Linked DNA regions of Homo sapiens: all the other regions are linked to region 2. The links are contacts of gene promoters, found by promoter capture Hi-C in blood cells and fetal thymus (Javierre and others, 2016). All regions are on one chromosome and are shown on one strand. The core of a region is centred on a gene start or on the middle of the fragment in contact, and the rest is flanking DNA. Distances in the headings are between cores, read along the strand shown.

Region 1 (2,700 bases), core at 141-2,640, 390 kb before region 2:
CCCAGGCTGATCGTGAACTCCAGGCCTCAAGCAATACTCCTTACTTCTGTCTTGGCCTCCCAAAGTGGTGAGATTACTTTGGTGTAGCCACTGTGCCTGACCCTAGTTTCAGATTTTATACCAGAGAACTAGACAAGGAATTCCCAACCTTTGTTTTATCCCAAGATGTCCTCCTTTTCTGCTTTTTTTTTCCCTCCCAAAGAGAACAGTGGGGGTTGGAGGGATGGTTATCCTTGGGCTATTCTACTTGTTTTTGTTCTGGCACACCTACTCCTTACTACAGTTAGAAAAATTATACACTGTAGCTTATACTCAGATCTCTGGTCACTTAAATACAAGAAGCTTCAGTCTTTCTTACTTTCATTTTTTGTCTTTTTTTGGGATGGTGGTGGTAATGGTGTTGCTAGACTCTAAGCTCTGTAAGATTATGTCTTTGTTTAGGCATGGGCAGTGCCTAGCCCATAGCAGATGAATGAATGAATGAATGAATGAATGAATGGGGATATTATCCTATAGATGGTGTGTGGTTTAGAAAATCAACTATTGAGACTTGACATGAAATTCTACATCGGGCGTTGAGATTAACATGATTCCCAGTTTTCACTGAGGGATATCACATCCAGAGAACCTGAGAAGGGATCCCTAGCTCCTTGTTCTAGCCTTGAGAAGTAGTGGATGAGCTATGAAAAGACAGCTTTTAAAAATAAATGAAATCCTAGTGATAATTTGATCCACTCTCAGACTAACTATGAAAGTTGACTAAGATCAAACAGAGCTAGTGGCAGATCTGGGACTGGAATTAGCCCTCCATGTCCCCAGCTCCAGTACTTTTCTTACTACATGAGATAGTCTTGCCAGTGACCATCACTGCAAGGCAAAGTAAAGTTCTGTAACAAAGACCTAGAACAGAAATAGAAGATACATGGTATACATGCCATGACATTTCCTTCCAGTGCACAGAAGAGATGTCACTAGCCATATGACATTCTTCCCATTGGGTGCGAATAGGCCCTCAGGCAGCCACTACCAACCAGTCAGAGTCAGCACTCAAGAGGAAACCCATCTACCATTCCTCTTCCAGAGGAAATAAAGGTTTCATCAGTCAAGGAACTCTGGCCTCGACCTGTCTTCTCCAGATGAGCTGAAAACTCCAGCAGGAACCTCACACTCTTTATTGCTCTTCACTGTGCCCACATCCACAAAGGACTTAAAAGTGATGTCTGTAAGCAGGTTTTCCACAGCATGGGTCTGCCAGACAGAGCAGGTGCAGGATTAGTCATGACTCCAAGCCAGGCAAGGTGATTAAGAAAAGCTAAATTTATATTAAATTATCATAAAGTCCTAAAATACTGAACATAGTGGTTAAATAACTCCAGAAAGTCCAATCTCTCCAGTGAGTAACGTTAAAACCATTACACATGAGCATGGGAGAATCGCTTCCATTAGTTTAGGACAGAGAGATTTTGCTTTTTACAGAGTAAATCAGTGCTCAAATAGATACTTCCTCAAATATGTCCTTTCTACATTCTGAACAGCCCAAGTGCAATAAGATCCTTCCCCCTTTCCAATCAAGAAAATGCCACTTTTCTACTTGCTCTTCCTCCCCAGACGTGAGTCTAAGGACCCAAAGTGCTCACTCCTTTACTGCTTGTTAAGTGTAATGTGGGGAGGCTCAGAACTGGGGCTGACGCTACTGAGAGCAAGGCTAAGGGCCTGGTATCTCTCTCTAGCAGTCTTAGAACTGACTAGAAAAGAATTGATCTTGTCCTTTTTCACTTTGGTAGCTGATTTCTCAATACCAGTAACCACAGGAGAAGTTTCAACTCAGGAAACTTCCCCTAGAAATTCTCCCCTCCATTCCCAGCCCCTGTTGTTCTCTCCTGCCACTTCTAATTCCTGGGGGAGAAGAGGTCTGGGTCTGCCATGGGCTAGGAGGGCCTCATCAGTGGTGCTCTCTACCTTCCTACTCCTTACCCACCTCTTTGTATTTTTATTTATTCAGCCCTCCCACCACAGGACTTTGGAGATTGCTGGTGCCACAAGGCTTGGTCAGAAAAAGCAAATTAGGCAAAAAAACAAACAAAAAAACCCCACGAAGAACAGCTAGGGAGACGTTTTAGGGCAAAAATAAGTCTCAATTTCCCTGATACCAGGCTGAGACACGTGCCCTTTGTGTGAATGAGCATGAACCAAGTGATGGCATCCCACATGGAAACTAAGCCCCTTAGCTGAGGGGACAGCTGGAAGAGGAACATCACCACCCCGTAGCCACAGGCTTGCTGTCCACTAACTTAGATCCCTGAGCACTTGAGAAAGAACATAGGAAGTTCAACAGGAAGTTTGACCCTCATGGATACTTCTCTTTAGGCCCTGGGTTTCCCAAGTCTCCAACCTGATCGTTCTTTCTGACCATTTATGACAACTTCTGGTTTTTCTTTGAAAGCTTGTTTCTAGGTCTCTTCCCCAGAATCCCAGGACATGAGGGAGAGAGGGGTCAGGAGGTATACCATATTTGGTCTAGGCAGAGCTTCTTAGACTTTTCAGAGACTCAGCCCCCAAGGCCTAACATTCACTCAAGCCACTGGCTCACAACCTGGTTAATTTGAGCAAAGACTTAGGAAAGGTACTGGCCAGTGGTGGCACCAGGAGGGAATTCCTATTAGCCAGTAGCCTTGTGATAGGGGACCCAGTTATCTGAAT
Region 2 (2,758 bases), core at 197-2,696:
AGCCTGTGATTTCACAGTCAGAAACCACTTTGCCAGGCCCGCCCTTAAGTCCGAATTTGGATGCTTAATCAAATTTGCCTCATCCCAGCCAAGCAGGGGCAACTCAGCTCCTAGGGCTTTGTTCCAGACAGCTCTCAGATGTCTTTTCCTGTAGTTGTGACCAAAAATACAAGAAGGAGGCCAAAGTGCCCAGCCTCAGCCTTAGGCTCCCTGAGGGCAAAAGATGAGGGCAGCATACCTTGTTCCCCTTGCCTCTGGAGCTCCCAACCTTACCTCTTGCCGGTGATAAGAGGTGTTTAGGAAGCCGTGATAGCGCTGCCGCAGGGCCTGGCCCAGTTCCCAGTGCTGTAGCATCCCCTCCTGTGGGCAAACCCAAGGGTTAAGAGGGTCTAGAGGGAAGGGGTGGCTTCAAGCCCCATGGGGTTTAGGCCCTGTTGCTTTCCAGGTTCACGCTTTGCTGGAGTCAATTAATCTGATCCCAGAAGTCTTTCATTAAGTGGCCAGTCATGCACAGCAATATCATGGGCACAGAGATTAAGGTTATGAAATCTGGTCAAAGTCAGCACCCATATGGGAAAAGGCAGTTTAGTAGGACCCCAAGTTTTGTAGACTGCTCTAGACGTCGCTCATTCTGCAGCTCATCCTGAGGAAAGGCTGGCTTCTGACCCACCTTGGTTAACTGACCAAACCCCTGGGGCCATTCTTCTTCCTGATAGGGGTCCTTGGGATATGTCTTCACTGGTGAACGGTCTCCATGGCGGTACAGCTGAGAGAATAAAATGGTTTGCCTATAGGTCAGAAGCATCCCCTTGATAGGGACCCAGAGCCTACCTTTTGCCCCATGTTAGGGAAGGAAGTCTCATTCCCTCTGGGAAGCCTACTGGCTGCAAAAGACCCCAGCTAGGAGTCAGTCACTTCTTCCAGATTCCAGAGATTCTAACTTAGCTAAGCAATGCTACTGGAGACCATAGGCAAAGCCAAGGTACAGGTAGGAAGGGAAAAGAGAAGTGAAAGCAACGTATGTGGTGGGGACAACTGGGGAAAAAAGATAACCAAAGGCTTCTTTAGGGATGAGTCTTAACCATTCAACCACTTCCCTGTCTCAAGGCAGACTCACCCCGACGTATTCGGTCATCCTGACTCCCATAAGCCAGGGCTCCAGGTCAATCCTGAATCCAGCCTCCCAACTACCCAGGCCAGTCGTCCCCTCCTAAACCAGCTGTTCCTTCCCGAGATCCTCGACCTCCACCAGCTGGCCTTTGCCCTTTTAGCTTCAGGGAAGTCTTTGGTGAGCCCATCTCTCATTACCAAGGTAACGAAGCGCAGACTCCGGGCCCGGGTGGGCGGCATCACCACCAGGTTCACGCCGAGAAGGAGCTGGAGGAGAGCCGCCCGGCTCCAGCCGGACCGCTTGCCCGCCATCACCGTTGTAATCTATGCAGCAAACAAGCTGGAACCCGCTGGGTGGCACCTGCAAGCAGCCGCCCGGACGCACCCGTAAGGACACACGCCGGAAGTGCGTTCGCCGCCATCTTACTTAGGGACCTGCTGGGGTGCGGGGAAAAGGCGCAGTCTCGGTGGGATTGCGTGCAGGAGGGTCGTGGTCTGGCTGTGGCGGAGGAGCATAAGAAGGTAACGCGACCTGGCGCGGCAGACAGGGCTCGAAGACCTCATCTTGATTAAGAAGGCCACAAATTCGCGTTTGCCTCTGCTCGGAGAAATCCCTTACCAAGGTGGCACTTGCAGTGGGCGGGACCATGTCTGGAGAACCAGCGTCCCCTCCAGGCTTGACCCCATAGCTAGATCGGGTGCAGAATTGAGGCGAGGGATGGGAAAGTAGAGGTCGCTTCTCTCCACGCCCCTGCCTTTGTGGGGAGATTGAGCCCTGGCCCTGTTCTCCAGGAGATGTTTTGCTTGGGGTGCAGGACACAGTATGTAAACAACCCTTTGGACTCCGTGTGTCCTTGAGGTTGCCCCAGTCTGGCCTACCGTTCCTGCCCTGCACAAAGCTTCAGTAGCCCTCTCACTTTCCCTTCCAGTCCTTTCCCTGTCCTCCCTCCCCTCCACTTCCAAGTTTTAGTTAATTAGAGTCAAGACGTCATGTCATGCCTCTTCCCAAAGGAGTTGGGTTGCACAGGATGTTCAGACTTTACAAACCCAAAGCACTGAATCCCTGGGGGAGGAATTTCAGACCAGTGGGGAGGTATTTTGAGGTAAGGGACAGGCGCATATCATAAAGTGGGAGTAGGTGGGGTTTCCACAGAATCAATGGCCCTCTTGGCATTGACCATTAGGATTCAGGTGCAGCCAGTTTGGCCTCAGGACTTTGTGACTCCTGTGACGGTTGCAGGTCAGATCATAGGTCCTGGGGATGCTTTGATTCAGATCTGCCTACTGGAAGCAAATCTCCTCAGATCTTTGGGAAACAAAACTGATCAGGCTTGGCCTGGGCGCCGTGGCTCACCTGTAATACCAGCACTTTGAGAGGCCGAAGCAGGCAGATCACCTGAGGTCAGGAGTTCGAGACCAGCCTGGCCAACGTGGCGAAACCCCGTCTCTACTAAAAATACAAAAAAAAAAAAATTAGCCGGGTGCAGTGGCGTGCTCCTGTAATCCCAGCTACTCTGGAGGCTGAGGCAGGAGAATCGCTTGAACTCGGAAAGCGGAGGTTGCAGTGAGCTGAGATCACGCCACTGCACTCCAGCCTGCGCGACAGAGTGAGACTGTCTCAAAACAACAACAACAAAAACCTGATTAG
Region 3 (2,842 bases), core at 165-2,664, 320 kb before region 2:
TAGTACCAAGCTGTGAAAGGATTTATATGTCTGCATGTGAAGTTTTGCTTCTTCCTAGTAATGGTGAGTCAGCAGCAACACCTTTTTTTTTTTTTAATGTAGATATGGTGTCTTGCTATGTTGATCAGACTGATCTCAAACTCCTGTCCTTAAGTGATCCCCCCACCTCAGCCTCCCAAAGTGCTGGGATTACAGGTGTGAGTCATTGTGCATTGCCTAGCAACACTTTTTAAATAAGGAAGTAACATGGTCAAATTTGAACTTCAGAATGACATACTCTTGTGACAATGTAGAGGATGATTTGGGGGAGAAAGAAAAAATAGACACAGAGACTCCAGCTTCTTGTCCTAAGCTTCTGAAATTTGGGAACTCCCAGTTCATATCTTAAATTTGATATCTAGCACATTCTCTCTCATCCTTCTGAACTAATTCTGTTATGTACACGAAGCATTCTCTCTAAACACTTTGTTGTTAGTTGCTTTTTTCCTGGGAATTTGTTTGTTTGAGACAGGGTCTCACTCTGTTACCCAGGCTGAAATGCAGTGGCATGATCATGGCTCACTGCAGCCTTGAACTCTTGGGCTCAAGTTATCCTCCCGTCTCAGCCACCCAAGTAGCTGGGACTTTAGGTGTGTGTCATCATACCTGGCTAGTTTTTATTTTAATTATTTATTTTTAAACATATTTTTTGTAGAGATGGGTCTCACTATGTTGTCCAGGCTGGTCTCAAATTCCTGGGCTAAAGCAATCCTCTTGCCTTGGCCTCTCAAAATCCTGGGACTATAGGCATGAGCCACCATGCCTAGTCTGGGCACTTTTTTTTTTTTTTTTTTGAGATGGAGTCTTGCTCTGTCGCCCAGGCTGGAGTGCAGTGGCACGATCTCAGCTCACTGCAGCCTCTGCCTCCCAGGTTCAAGCAATTCTTGTGCCTCAGCCTCCTAAGTAGCTGGGATTACAGGTGCGTGCCACCGTGTCCAGCTAATTTTTGTATTTTTAGTAGAGACAGGGTTTCACCATGTTGGCCAGGCTGGTCTCGAACTCCTGACCTCAGGTGATCTGCCCACCTCGGCCACCCAAAGTGCTGGGATTACAGGCGTGAGCCACTGCGCCCGGTCAGTCTGGGTATTTTATACATGGTTATTTAGGTGTAGGAAGCATTTGCCAGTGCTTTCTGATTGACTTTTAATGTCTTTCTCAATGATGCCTTTTGTTTTTCTGGCCGTTTTGGGGTTTTTGGTTTTGGTTTTTTTGTTTTTTTTTTTTTGAGATAGGGTCTCGCTCCAGGTTGGAGTGCAGTGGCATGATCACCCCAGGCTCAGCTGATCCTTTTGCCTCAGCCTCCTGAGCAGCTGGGATTAAAGGCATGAGCCACCACACTTGGCCACCTTTTTCTTTAATAAATATTTTTAATGAATTGATTGCCATGAGGCGCCCATAAATCCTATTGATTGGTAGGTCTTTGTTTTCTAAACTTCTAATCTAGAGGGAAACAAATTCATTTAACAGACGTTTATTGTATAACTGATTTCTGCAGGCACTGCACATGGTCCCAGAAATTTAAAGATGAATGAAGACTGTCTCTGCCCTCATGGAACTCACAATCTAGTAGGAAGAATTTTTTAAAAAGACATAAATGGTTATAAAAGTGCATACTAGCTGGGCGCGGTGGCTCACGCCTGTAATCCCAGCACTTTAGGAGGCTGAGGCGGGTGGATCACCTGAGGTCAGGAGTTCGAGAGCAGCCTGACCAAAATGGAGAAACCCCGTCTCTACTAAAAATACAAAATCAGCCAGGTGCAGTGCGCATGCCTGTAATCCCAGCTACTTGGGAGGCTGAGGCAGGAAAATCTCTTGAACCCGGGAGGTGGAGGTTGCAGTGAGCCGAGATCACGCCACTGCAGTCCAGCCTGGGTGAAAGAGCGAGTCTCTGTCTCAAAAAAACAAAACAAAACAAAACAAAACAAAACAAAACAAAACTGCATAGTCTAGGACAGAAGAAGGCATAACTAATTTTTGTGGGCTACCAAGAATCAGTAAATCATCCCCCCTTTCAAACTATATGAATGTGTAATTTGCAACTCTTATTGCAGCATTTGAAAACATAGAATAACAAGAAAGTACAGTCCATAATTACCTTTGAACTTCAGTTCAATTTACGCCATATCCCCTTAACTAGTTTCTTACAATGCATTAGTTATTCTTAACTGCCCAAGAGTTTGTGAACATTTCTTTTCTTTACAAATTACTCCAAAGCTCTGGTCCATTGGCTTGTGGCAGTACAAAATTACCTTCTATAAATAGCATTTTTAATTGAAACATATGAATCCCAGACAGTGGCATCACACTTAGTTTCTGCTGTGCTCTTGTGGAAGATAAGCCTTTCATGCAGAGCCTAGTAGCTCAGCATGAATTTCATGACCTGCATTTCTTAGTAGCTACTTTGCCTTTAGCATCTTTTCTGCTTGATCAGTTGATAAAAGCTTGTCCTAGTTTCTTGAACCTGTTTTATAGCAATAATTCAGCCTGCATTTATTCTTTCCTTATTGCTTCCTTGAAGTTTAAAACTGTTTAGTGTATTCACCGTTTGCTTTTCTATAGTCTTCAATTATAGGGAGGATTTTCTTCCCTATCAATCTCTTAATAGGTCTTCTGCAGAGCCAGAGATGTCTATTAATTTTCTCATTATAAAATCAGAAATTATAATCTGATAAATTGATGTCTCAGCTGGGTGCAGTGGCTCATGCACTTTGGGAGACTGAGGCAGGAGGATTGCTTGAGCTCAGGAATTCGAAACCAGCCTGGGCTACCTAGCAAGACCTTGTCTCTACAAAATTAAAAATAT
Region 4 (2,700 bases), core at 113-2,612, 340 kb before region 2:
ATCTCAACTGGGGATATTTTGTCCCCCGGAGGACATTTAGCAATGTTTGGAGACATTTTTGGTTGTCCTGCTTGGCGGTGCTTACCGACATCTGGTGGGTAGAAGCTAGGGATGCTGCTAAAGACTCTATAACGTGTATAATTCTATACAGGATTACACGCCTGTAATCCCAGCACTTTGGGAGGCCCAGGTGGGCGGATCACCTGAGGTCAGGAGTTCAAGACCAGCATGGCCAATGTGGTGAAACCCCCGTCTCTACTAAAAATACAAAAATGAGCCGGGTATGGTGGTGGGCACCTGTAATCCCAGCTACTTGGGAGGCTGAGGCAGGAGAATTGCTTGAACCCAGGAGGCAGAGGTTGCGGTGAGGGGAGATCATGCCATTGCACTCCAACCTGGGCAACAGGAGCGAAACTCCGTCTCAAAAAAAAAAAAAAAAATCTATAACATGCAGACAGGCCCCTATGACAAAGAATTATCTGGCCCAAAACATCAACAGAGGTTGAGAAATGCTGCTAACCACACACAGTAGGGAGTGGGGATGTACCAGACGGGAGTTCAGGATGAAAGCTGTGGAAAGGACAGAGAGGAAGTAGGGGGGAATAGGAGGAGGAGGTTAGGCAGAGGACAAAGCACTGGACCTGGAGCAGACAGACTTGGGTTCCATCGACCAGCCAGTTGACCTTGTGCAAGTCACGTAGCCCCTTAAGCTTCAGTTTTCTTGTTTGTAAAAAAGCCACAAGGGGCTGAACATGGTGGCTCATGCCTATAATCCTAGCACTTTGGGAGGCTGAGGCGGGCAGATCACTTGAGGTCAGGAGTTTGAGACCAGCCTGGCCAACATGGTGAAAACCTGTCTCTACTAAAAATACAAAAATTAGCTGGGCGTGGTGGCGCACGCCTGTAGTCCCAGCTACTTGGGAGGCTGAAGCAAAAGAATTGCTTGAACCATGGAGGCAGAGGTTGCAATGAGCAGAGATCACGCCACTGCACTGCAGCCTGGGCAACACAGCGAGACTCTGTCTCGAAAAAAAAAAAAAGCAACAAAGATTAGACAAGAAAATAAAGGTGGAAAAAACTAATCTTATGCCTTGGCACACCAAAGATGTTCAATAATGGAGGCTGGGGTGTGCAGATGCAGGGCTGTGCAGATGCAGGGCTGTGGAGGCTAAATTTTTCCAAAAGGCCTTGATATTAAGAATCAGAGTACCAGAATAGAGCAAGTAGAGCAGTGTCCTGGGGCTGCGTGCAAATGAAAAGTCATACTGGTAGGGAAGAACCTTAAGCTCCGTTTGTTTTTTTAGGGCCCCACCCCCGCCTTTGGCTGAGTGATAACAGAAGTCCCGATTTCCCCCGCGCAGACTGTAGGAACAAAGCATTCCATCGGTGGGCATCAAGTTAGTTGCAGGCAGTTGAAGGGCCTCGACTTCCTGCATGTCAAATCAACATCTCAGCGTCCGCTGCAGTGAAGGGCGGGCAGCCACCGGTCAGGCAAACGCTTGACTTGGGCATTCATACAGTAAACAGACACATTATACTCCAAAAAGCCAGCTCTTCTGGGCAACTGCTGTCCCTCTGGGGTCCTCAGAGGTGGAATTCTGCCTTTTCACTCAAGTCCTGGCTGTGATCATAAAGGCAGCTTTTAACCCTTTTTAAGGAAAAGAATGGTGAGTGAAGAAAGAAAACAAATGACTGTGGGTGGCAAAATGCAGCCTTCATTTTAAGAAGTGTTGAATTAGAACACTTCACTATGCTCTGGCCTTGAAAGCTGCCAGCCACATCGCAAGCTCCCTTAGCCTCCAGGGGCCTGGGCTCTAGCCCCTCCACCTAATGCAATTCACTATGGAAAAGGTCTGTCCGCAAGGTATCTTTGATCATGAAGCCATCCAGCTTTTGGGATATATGTTAATGTGCTCATAGGATGTTTCTCTAGAGGTTAACTAAAATCTTACCTTTTACATCTCATCTCTCCCACTCCCGCCATCTTACCACTTTCTCACGGCTTTCATATAAAGCAAGCTTGTCCAACCTGAGACTTGCATGGCCCAGGATGGCTTTGAATGTGGCCCAACACAAATTCGTAAACTTCCTTAAAACATGAGATTACTTGCGATTTCTTTTTTCTTAGCTCATCAGCTGTTGTTAATGTTCATGTATTTTATGTGTGGCCCAAGACAATCCTTCTTCCAGTGTAGCCCAGGGAAGCCAAAAGTCTGGACAGCCCTGATATAAAGGAAAGAAGGGAAACATCCATCTGGTATACAAGACACACTAACTTAGTAGTAGACAACATAGATTCTAAAGTCAGAGAGATGAAGGTTCAAATCTTGGTTCTACCACAAATTCCGCAATTTTGAGCAAGTTAGTTAATCCCTCCAGGCCTCAGTTTCCTCATCCATAAAATGGGAATATTAACAGTTCTAACTCAAAGGGCTTTGTAAAGATTAACCCATATAAACTGCTTAGCACAGGGCTAACACACAGCAAAAGCTTCATAATAATATAACCATCTTTTTTTTTTCCGAGATGGAATCTTGCTGTGTTGCCCAGGCTGGAGTGCAGTGGCGCGATCTCAGCTTACGGCAACCTCCGCCTCCCGAGAAGCAATTCTCCTGCCTCAGCCTCCTGAGTAGCTGGGATTACAGGCACCCATCACTGCACCTGGCCAATTTTTGTATTTTTAGTAGAGACGGGGATTCA

What was found. Contacts are between HindIII fragments. The CHiCAGO score rates a contact against its expected background, and 5 or more counts as called.
Region 1: a contact is called between a fragment that was not itself captured here and the fragment with the promoter of ACP2 in region 2, in 1 of 17 cell types (M1 macrophages). The highest score is 5.4, in M1 macrophages.
Region 3: a fragment that was not itself captured here is called in contact with the fragment with the promoter of ACP2 in region 2 in 3 of 17 cell types (naive B cells, total B cells and fetal thymus); the score reaches 5.6 in naive B cells.
Region 4: a contact is called between a fragment that was not itself captured here and the fragment with the promoter of ACP2 in region 2, in 1 of 17 cell types (erythroblasts). The highest score is 6.3, in erythroblasts.

Annotation. Positions count from the first base shown.
Region 1 is chr11:46,855,568-46,858,267 of GRCh38, forward strand. LRP4 (LDL receptor related protein 4) reads right to left here. Exons shown (of 38, transcript NM_002334.4): 38 at 1,150-2,700. All of the region lies in intron 2 of LRP4-AS1 (LRP4 antisense RNA 1), which reads left to right. Among named protein-coding and RNA genes, the nearest start is that of LRP4-AS1, 11 kb to the left of the region's middle. The HindIII fragment of the contact is 2,101 bases long and covers 341-2,441 here.
Region 2 is chr11:47,247,368-47,250,125 of GRCh38, forward strand. ACP2 (acid phosphatase 2, lysosomal) reads right to left here and starts at 1,447. Exons shown (of 11, transcript NM_001610.4): 1 at 1,309-1,447; 2 at 671-766; 3 at 274-360. The coding sequence starts at 1,422. It also overlaps a transcript of NR1H3 not described here. RefSeq lists enhancers at 913-1,002, 1,133-1,642 and a silencer at 1,723-1,890. The HindIII fragment of the contact is 7,782 bases long and covers 1-2,007 here.
Region 3 is chr11:46,930,128-46,932,969 of GRCh38, forward strand. No RefSeq gene overlaps it. Among named protein-coding and RNA genes, the nearest start is that of CSTPP1, 5.2 kb to the right of the region's middle. The HindIII fragment of the contact is 2,128 bases long and covers 351-2,478 here.
Region 4 is chr11:46,905,430-46,908,129 of GRCh38, forward strand. All of the region lies in intron 1 of LRP4 (LDL receptor related protein 4), which reads right to left. Among named protein-coding and RNA genes, the nearest start is that of LRP4, 12 kb to the right of the region's middle. RefSeq lists enhancers at 500-1,334, 1,335-2,167. The HindIII fragment of the contact is 1,309 bases long and covers 709-2,017 here.